Regions from separate parts of the Homo sapiens genome. Here region 2 is linked to region 1. Evidence: promoter capture Hi-C in human tissues and cell types (Jung and others, 2019). All regions are on one chromosome and are shown on one strand. Each heading gives the region's core, a stretch centred on a gene start or on the middle of the fragment in contact. The rest is flanking DNA. Distances are from core to core; before and after follow the strand shown.

Evidence for each region. The method cuts DNA at HindIII sites, captures the fragments that hold promoters and counts their contacts. A contact is called where the count stands out against the background at its distance.
Region 2: a fragment that was not itself captured here is called in contact with the fragment with the promoter of NOP56 in region 1 in 1 of the 25 tissues and cell types used here (spleen).

Annotation. Positions count from the first base shown.
Region 1 is chr20:2,650,445-2,654,471 of GRCh38, reverse strand. NOP56 (NOP56 ribonucleoprotein) reads right to left here and starts at 1,840. Exons shown (of 12, transcript NM_006392.4): 1 at 1,809-1,840; 2 at 1,541-1,630; 3 at 1,079-1,193; 4 at 1-58. The coding sequence starts at 1,811. It overlaps MIR1292 (microRNA 1292), which reads right to left and starts at 1,695; the gene lies at 1,630-1,695. It overlaps LOC105372505 (a long non-coding RNA gene), which reads left to right and starts at 2,008. Exons shown (of 5, transcript XR_007067502.1): 1 at 2,008-2,112. SNORD110 (small nucleolar RNA, C/D box 110) reads right to left here and starts at 260; the gene lies at 186-260. RefSeq lists an enhancer at 1,127-1,216 and a silencer at 1,717-2,356. The HindIII fragment of the contact is 12,812 bases long and covers 1-4,027 here.
Region 2 is chr20:2,094,340-2,098,366 of GRCh38, reverse strand. No RefSeq gene overlaps it. Among named protein-coding and RNA genes, the nearest start is that of STK35, 5.5 kb to the left of the region's middle. RefSeq lists enhancers at 2,689-3,188, 3,189-3,690. The HindIII fragment of the contact is 4,445 bases long and covers 66-4,027 here.

The sequences.
Region 1 (4,027 bases), core at 591-3,090:
TTCTTTTTGGACGGCAGGTGGGTCTCCAAGAGCAGGCGGAGGTCCTCATGAACAACCCCTCAGGGGAAAGAACACAGTTCCCACTAACAGGCTGAAGGACGATCAACTCTAACATCCCTCAGCTGACTACCCTGGTCCCACCGAGCACGCTGGGATGGCATACCTAGATCCCTCCCCATCAGGCATTGCTCAGAGACATGGAGACATCAGTGATTGCACTCAGGGGATTGACAGATTTGATTCGCAAGTCATCACTGCAAAGCCTGGCCCAGCCATGGGAACAACTGCATTCAGGTCTGATAGCACAAGTGGGCAATAAATAATAGCTTGTAACACACCCTCGAGTATTTCGTAGAATTTGCCTTCTGGAACCAAACCTTTTTTTCTCAGCCTGTGTTTACCCAACTGCCCTTTCCAATCGAACAGAAAGCAGAGAACCAGACACTTGATTGTGTTTAGGCAAAACCTCAGGCACAAGTAGGTGTTAAGCCGACCCCCTTTAAGAAACCCCCCTTTGTCGGCCGGGCACCGTCGCTCGCGCCTGCAACCTCAGCACCTTGGGAGGTCGAGGCGGGCGGATCACGAGGTCAGGAGATGGAGACTAGCCTGGCCAACATGGTGAAACCCCGTCTCTACCAAAAATACAAAATTAGCCGGGTGTGGTGGCTGGCACAGGCCTGTAATCCCAGTTACTCGGGAGGCTGAGGCAGGAGAATCGCCTGAACCAGGGAGGCAGAGGTTGCAGTGAGCCCAGATCTTGCCACTGCACTCCAGCCTGGGGGACAGACTCCATCTCAAAAAAAATAAAAATAAAAAATAGTTTGTCACTACAGTGCCCACAAGGAAACGTTAACACACATTCCACATCGTCTGCTTAAACAGTTTGGTCTAGCACAGTTCCCAGACCTTGAGCTCTGTGAAGACAATTATTTCAAATTACACATTGTATGGCTCAAATACTGCCTCACGCCTATCAGACTCAGAGCCAGCCAAGGACGGCAAATACTATCACAAGCTGCCCGAGAGGATACCGAAAGGAACCACATCTCTCTGTGACACTTGGCGGTGGCCGACTTACCTTCAGACACGGCGTTGGCATTTTCCAAGGCAACCTGGGATGAGGCAAAGGGACAAAAGGCCACCAGACGAACGATGCTGTGGAATTTGCCCAGGTTGAGCACAGACTCCTCCACCTGGGGGGAGAAAGAGGCTAAGTGGTTTCCTTCCCTCCCTCCTGCCTCTGCGGCGCAGTCAAGCAGCGGTTCTCAGCCTTGGAAGCTCTTAAAATATGCTGATACCTGGGCCCCACATCCCAGCTTCTGCTTTAATCGTTCGGGGGCGGCGTCCGGGAGGCTTATTTCTAATTGCTAGAGCGATTCTACCCATGGGTCAAGGTAAAGACCCCCGGATCTAGAGCTTTCCAGGCCCGTCCCCCCGCCCCGAACCGCTCGGCCGGCCACGTGGGAGCGCGCTGTGCATGCTGGGACCCGCGCGATGAGGGTCTGCGGGGCCGCCAAAGGAGCCCACGGATCTCACCCACCTGCGGCTGCAGCAGACTGATCTCCTCCACTTCCTTCAGCGCCAGCAGCGCGTAGCCGACCGCGTGCTCAAACAGCACGTGCAACAGCACCTGGAACGGGAGCCGGGGCGCGAGCGTCAACGCAACCTCAGCGTCTGCCGGAACCCGTTCCCAGGGCAGGCGCAGGCGCAGGCGCAGGCCCAGGCCCAGGCCCAGGCCCTGTCTGCGGCCCGAACGCAGGCCGAAACCCCCACCGTCGCGTCGCCCGCGCCCCGCAACCACTCCTCACCATGGCGCCAGCTCCCGGGTTCGGCTCGCAATGCGGCTAGCGCGCTCCGGCGCGCGGAACCAGGCTCCAGAGGCCACGCCCCCGCCCCCCCGACCAATCGGAGGCCGGGGACGACACCATCTCCGGCCTTTGGAGGGGCCGCCCAGGGTGGTATCGCCCGGAGCGCGGGCTGGGTGGTGCCGAGCGCGGGCGAGCGGGCCTTTTCCGGCCTCTGCAGCTGCGCGGGCGGGCGTGGTTGCCGGGGACGCGCGGCCCCCGGTCGGGCACTGCAGGCGGCGAAACGACTTGGGAAGGCCCTTTCGGGGTAATAGTCCGGTTCCTGATGTTCTTGTCATATGAGTTACGGGCAGCAGAGCTGGGTGAAGTCGGGGCGGGAGGTCCGCGTGGGGCGCGGCGTCCATCCCAGACAGAGACCGCTGCCTAGCCGGCTTCCCGCTTCGTCCGTGGCCTCGGGCCCCAGACCCTGCGCCCCACGTCCCCGGGACCCAGGCGTTCCCGTCCCCTACTCGGGGACGAGCCTCCCCGGCGCCGGGTGGGCGGTGCATCCTTTCCTCCCACCCGTAACGGGAGCGGTGCCTGGCGCGCTCTGGCGCAGACCCTGCTGGGAATGTAGCTCGCGCAGTTTTCTTCGTACTATTAATTTATTTCTTTTTTTTGTTTTTGGTTTTTTTTTTTTAAATGACTGTAGCAGGCAGTAACGTGCGAAAGAAAGACGCTCCAGCGTCTTCCTAGGCCAGTTTCTTGTTGCTGTGCTGCACGGGACCCAGCTCCTTTTGCTGGGCCACGTGTTGCTCCTCCGCTTGGGCGGCCCTGAATTCTGGGCGCTGGTGATCGCTGAGTGAATCGCAGCTGCTTCCCTGTCCTTGAGGGCGTCTTTTGGGCACTCAGGCGACTCTTTAGAAATGAGTTTTGCTTTAATAATTAATATTAACGTTATAAATCCAAAACCTAGTTATACTTAAGTAGCGTATCCCCTGGTATGTTTTAAAGAGTCATTCGAAGGGGATTTTTAAAAATAATGTATAGCTATAAACTGCATTTATACATTTAATTGTTATTTTGTTAAGCGATTGAGTTACTTGACAAAATCCAAGTACATAGTTCACTCACAAATCTAATATGTCAAACCTAAATGTGGTTGGTAAATCTTACTCTCATAATTTCAATATGGTTTACAGATGTGGTTGAATTCTGTTACACATGTCTACTTACGAGTCAGAATCGTTATTCCATTTAATATTTTAAAATGGAATTGCCAAGTTAATCCATACATTAGCATGTTAAATTATTTTAACCGTCGTGAATACATCAAAATAGACGATTCCAAAATGTAATGGAAAATACTAATGCTAATACTTCAATTTACTTCATTATTTCTGCCCTTAATCCTGAATCTTCCTGGAGTTACAGGTGCTTATCCACTAAACCAGGGGTTTTCAAGCAAGAAGTCAGAATGCATTAATGGACAGCATTTAAAAAAATAGGATTGGGTGGGCTATAATCCAGCACTTTAGGAGGCCGAGGCAGGCGGATCACTTAAGATCAGGAGTTCGAGACCAGCCTGGCCAACATGGTGAAACCCCGTCTCTACCAAAAAATAAAAAAATTAGCTGGACGTGGTGGAGCATGTCTGTAATCCCAGCTACTCGGGAGGCTGAGGAAGGAGAATCGCTTGAACCCGGGAGGCAGAGGCTGCACTCTAGCCTGGGCAACAGAGCAAGGCTCTGTCAAAAAAAAAAAAAAAAAAAAAAAAAAGAAAAAGGATTAAAGCGAATAGAAATAAGAGTGTGTTGCTTAGAGTAAGGTGCTGTTCATTGTAAAACTTTTGTCTCAGCTCTACATACATATATAGAAATATGTACACAAATATTTTTCATATATACATATATATGTAACTATATGAACACACTTTTGTGTGTTAAATCAGAATATAAAAAACCTGAGGGTCAATCAATGAGCCAAAAGGTAACCAGTCGTACTCTGGAAAAATTTGGGTCCTCTGGTTACAAAGGAGCTGTCATGAAGTAGTTTGCTGACTTACAGAGATGGCTGAAGAAAAGTGCTTCTGCTGGTGAGATAACCAATGCTTGTGATCAGATATGGATGTGGTATGAACATTAAAAGGTTTCCTTCGGTTTTCTCATCTCCATCCCTTCAATAAAATATCTCACCCTGATACTTGTAGTCTGACTCTAGTGGGATAACACAGGACTCCTGTT
Region 2 (4,027 bases), core at 1,039-3,538, 560 kb after region 1:
GACATAAAACTTTTTGGGGTGATGGGTTATCTAGACTGTAGTAATAGTTTCAAGATAGGAATATATTAAAACACTTCAAATTGTACCCTTTATATTAGGTGTATTTATGTAAATCAGTTTTACAACTTAATAAAGCTATAAAAAAATTGGAAAAGAACACATACTATAATTCCATTAATATAAAGTCAACCAACAATAGTCTAGAGTGGCAGAAATCGTATCAGTGGTTGTTTTTCAGGTGGGAATTGATTGCTGAGGGCCACAGGGGAATTTTCTGGGTGATGGAATTTTATTGTGTGTAAATTGTACCACGACAAAGTTGAATTAAAACATAAAAAAAAAAAAAAAAAAGCCAAAACCCTGTAGCTGCGAACACTTGTGTCTTTACTTAGAAGTTTCTAAGGACAGAAGGCTGCATTGTGTGGCCCTGGCCCCATTCCTGTATCACTGGCTTCGTAGGTTTAGCACAGCCAGCAGTGTCTTTCCTCCTGGCTAGTTTTCCTATCTGATTTTGTTTTGTTTTGTTTTCTAATACACATATACATGTTTTTATTTTGTTTTTAGGCATCTTACCTATTTATCCATCTATTTGAGAGAGGGTCTTGCTCTGTTGCCCAAGCTTGGAGTGCAGTGGCATGATCATGGCACACTGCAGCCTTGACCTCCTGGGCTCAAGTGATCCTCCCACCTCAGCCTCCTGAGTAGCCGGGACTGTGGGCACATGCCACTAGGATTTTACCATGTTGCCCAGGCTGGTCTCGAACTCCTGGCTCAGCCATCCTCCCACCTTGGCCTCCCAGAGTGCTGGGATTACAGGCATGAGCCACTGCACCCGGCCTATTTACTTTTTATAATTCCAGCTTGTTTTTTTAGATTTTGGGGTACCTGTGCAGGTTTGTTACATGCATATATTGTGTGATGCTAAGGTTTGGGATACAGTTGAGCCCATCGTCCAGGTAATGAGCATAGTAACCAGTAGCTTTTCCACCCTTGCCCTTCCCTCCCCACCCTAGTAATACACAGTGTCTACTCCTGTCTTTATGTCCATGAGCACCCATTGTTTACTCCCACATATAAGTGAGAACATGCGGTATTTGGTTTTTGGTTTTCTGTTCCTGAGTTAATTTGCTTAGGATAATGGCCTCCAGCTGTATCCCCCACCTGAATTTTGAGAGAGATTGAATATGAAGTTCTGGGAGGACCACAAGGAGTGTGAATCCTTTTATATGCTGTTAAGAGGGCTGGACTGCTTGATAAATCATTTGATGCCTTGACCAAATTTTTAGTTTTTGTTTTTGTCTTGCTTAACTTATGGAAGTAACCTATACTTTACTGTTAGGACTAATAGCCAACATTTACTAAAGTTTTCTGTCTGCCAGGCACAGGGATTAACAAAGAATTACGACAATTCCATGAGGTAGTGACTTTCATTAGCCCCATTTTACAGATGAAGAAACCGAATGTGAAGCTGGCACAGCTGGGTTTCAAACTGAGGCCCCAGACACTCCACATCTCTTGATCGCACTCAGCCCCTCCCCAGGCTAAGCAGTGTAAACGTTACAGCGAGCCCTCTTCTACATCTTTCTTGTTGACAAACATGCCTGCCTCAGTATCCCTGGAACCTCAGACAGTACCAAACATCTGACTGAGCTCAATATTTAGTGATAGAAGAAATGTAGAAGAGAAGAGCAGCAGTGAGGTTTTTTGTTTGTTTTTTTAAATGGAGTCTCACTCTGTTGTCCAGGCTGGGGTGCAGTGGCATGATCTCGGCTCCCTGCAACCTCTACCTCCTGGATTCAAATGATTCTCCTCCTCAGCCTCCCGAGTAGCTGGGATTACTGACACCTGCCACCACACCTGGCTAATTTTGTGTGTGTGTGTGTGTTTTAGTAGAGATGGGGTTTCATCATATTGGCCAGGCTGGCCTCGAACTCCTGACCTCAAGTGATCCATCCACCTTGACCTCCCAAAGTGCTGAGATTTCAGGCGTGAGCCACCGTAACCGACCAAGCAGTGAGGTTTTCAGCCCTTTTAGCAGGCCAGGGATGCGGAAGGAAGTCCTTTCTCTGCTGAGCACAGAGAGCTGCATGGAATGTCACATCATTGGTTGTGCTCTCTACACTCAAGGAGTCGCTGACACTGGCTGAATAAAGCAATGGCTACACTTTTACTGTAAGAAAAGTCATTCATTTAACATTTTTTGAACCCTTACTCCTCTATGTGCAAGGCAGTTTGGGAGCTGATGTATGGGGATGAGCAGGAGAAAACTCAGTGTCTGCCTTGAGGGGCTGACACAGACAATATGACAGTGCAGTTATGCAGTCCCACATCACAGTAGACCCATTAGGGACCAGAAAGTAAACAAAAGATAGCAAGGGATGGAGGCTGGGCATGGTGACTCATGCCTGTAATCCCAGCACTTTGGGAGGCCGAGGCAGGCGGATCACCTGAGGTCAGGAGTTCGAGACCAGCCTGACCAACATGGAGAAACCCCGTCTCTACTAAAAATACAAAATTAGCCGGGCATGGTGGCACACACCTGTAATCTCAGCTACTCAGGAGGCTGAGGCACAGGAATCACTTGAACCCAGAAAGCAGAGGTGGCAGTAAGCTGAGATTGCACCATTGCACTACAGCCTGGGCAGCAAGAGCGAAACTCCGTCTCAAAAAAAAAAAAAAAAAAAAAAGATAGCAAGGGATGGGGTCGATGGTATTCTAGAATGGGTGGTTTGGGGAAAGCTTTCTAAGGAGGTGACCATTGAGCAGGGACCTGATTTAAGTTAAAGAATAGGTCAATTGCATCTCTACTGGAAGAGCATTTCAGATCAGAGGGAAGAGCAAAGGCCCTAGGTGGGAGGGAGCAGGCAAGGAGGCCAGTGTGGCCTGAGCTGAGTGAATGGGGGAAGAGTGGTGGGAAACACAGGAAGAGGGATGTGTGGGGCCCCATAACGAGGCAGGGACTCAGGGGCCATGGAAAGAATGGTGGAGTTACTGAGTGCTTGCTATATGCCAAGCACTTACGGTCGGTGATGTGGCTGGACCCCATTGGCCCTCCTTTCACACGAGAGTGCTGAAGCTCGGATAGGTAAGAACCGTCCCAAGTGAGAAGGCAGAATAGTAAGGCTGAGGCTGGTGATCCATCTCTGTACTTCAGGGGGCTGAGGACACCCGAGGGGCAGCCAGCCCTGGGGGTGGTGCCATGGGAAAGCAGGGAGCTTCGTCCTGGGAGGGAAGGGTGGATGGAGTAAAGGAGTGTGGGGGAATGGAAGGTAGGAGACAGGGGGCTGAGACTGCTCCAGGGGGCTGGAAGAGGGATTATGCGGAGTGAGGAGGAAGGATTGGGGCTGAGGATTAAGGACAGAGGTGGCATGGGGGTAGGGGCTAGGAATGAGGTGGTGTGGTGGTTGTAGAAGGGGGAGCCGAGCGTGGGAGAGGGTTAAAGGCAGAGAGGCTGGCACAGGGGTATAGGAGGAGGATCTTGGGAGCAGGAGGTGCTGAAGACTGAAGCTTGAGGTGGCTGCCTCAATGAAGGAGATCCCCTGAGCAGGGAGTACTAGGGAGGCCTGGAGGAGTGTGTGCAGTCGCCTTGGAGAGCTCCCCTCCCATAATGGCTCTGGATTTTCAGAGGGCTCCAGGAAGGCTGTCTCCAGGAAACGCTAGAGCTTGTCATGATGCCTAACACCACACAACTCGCAATAACTCTATATGGGAGAGGCTGTTTTCGTCCCCATTTTATAGATGGGAAGACTGGCCACATGTGGTGGCTCACGCCTGTAATTCCAGCAGTTTGGGAGGAAGAGGTGGGTGGGTCACCTGAAGCCAGGAGTTTGAGACCAGCCTGGCCAGCATGGTGAGACCCTGTCTCTACTGAAAACACACAAATTAGTCAGACGTGGTGACGCATGCCTGTACTCCCAGCTACTTGGGAGGCTGGGGTGGGAGAATTGCTGGAACCTGGGAGGCAGATGTTGCAGTGAGCCAAGATCATGCCCTGCACGCCAGCCTGGGCGACGAGTGAGACTCTGTC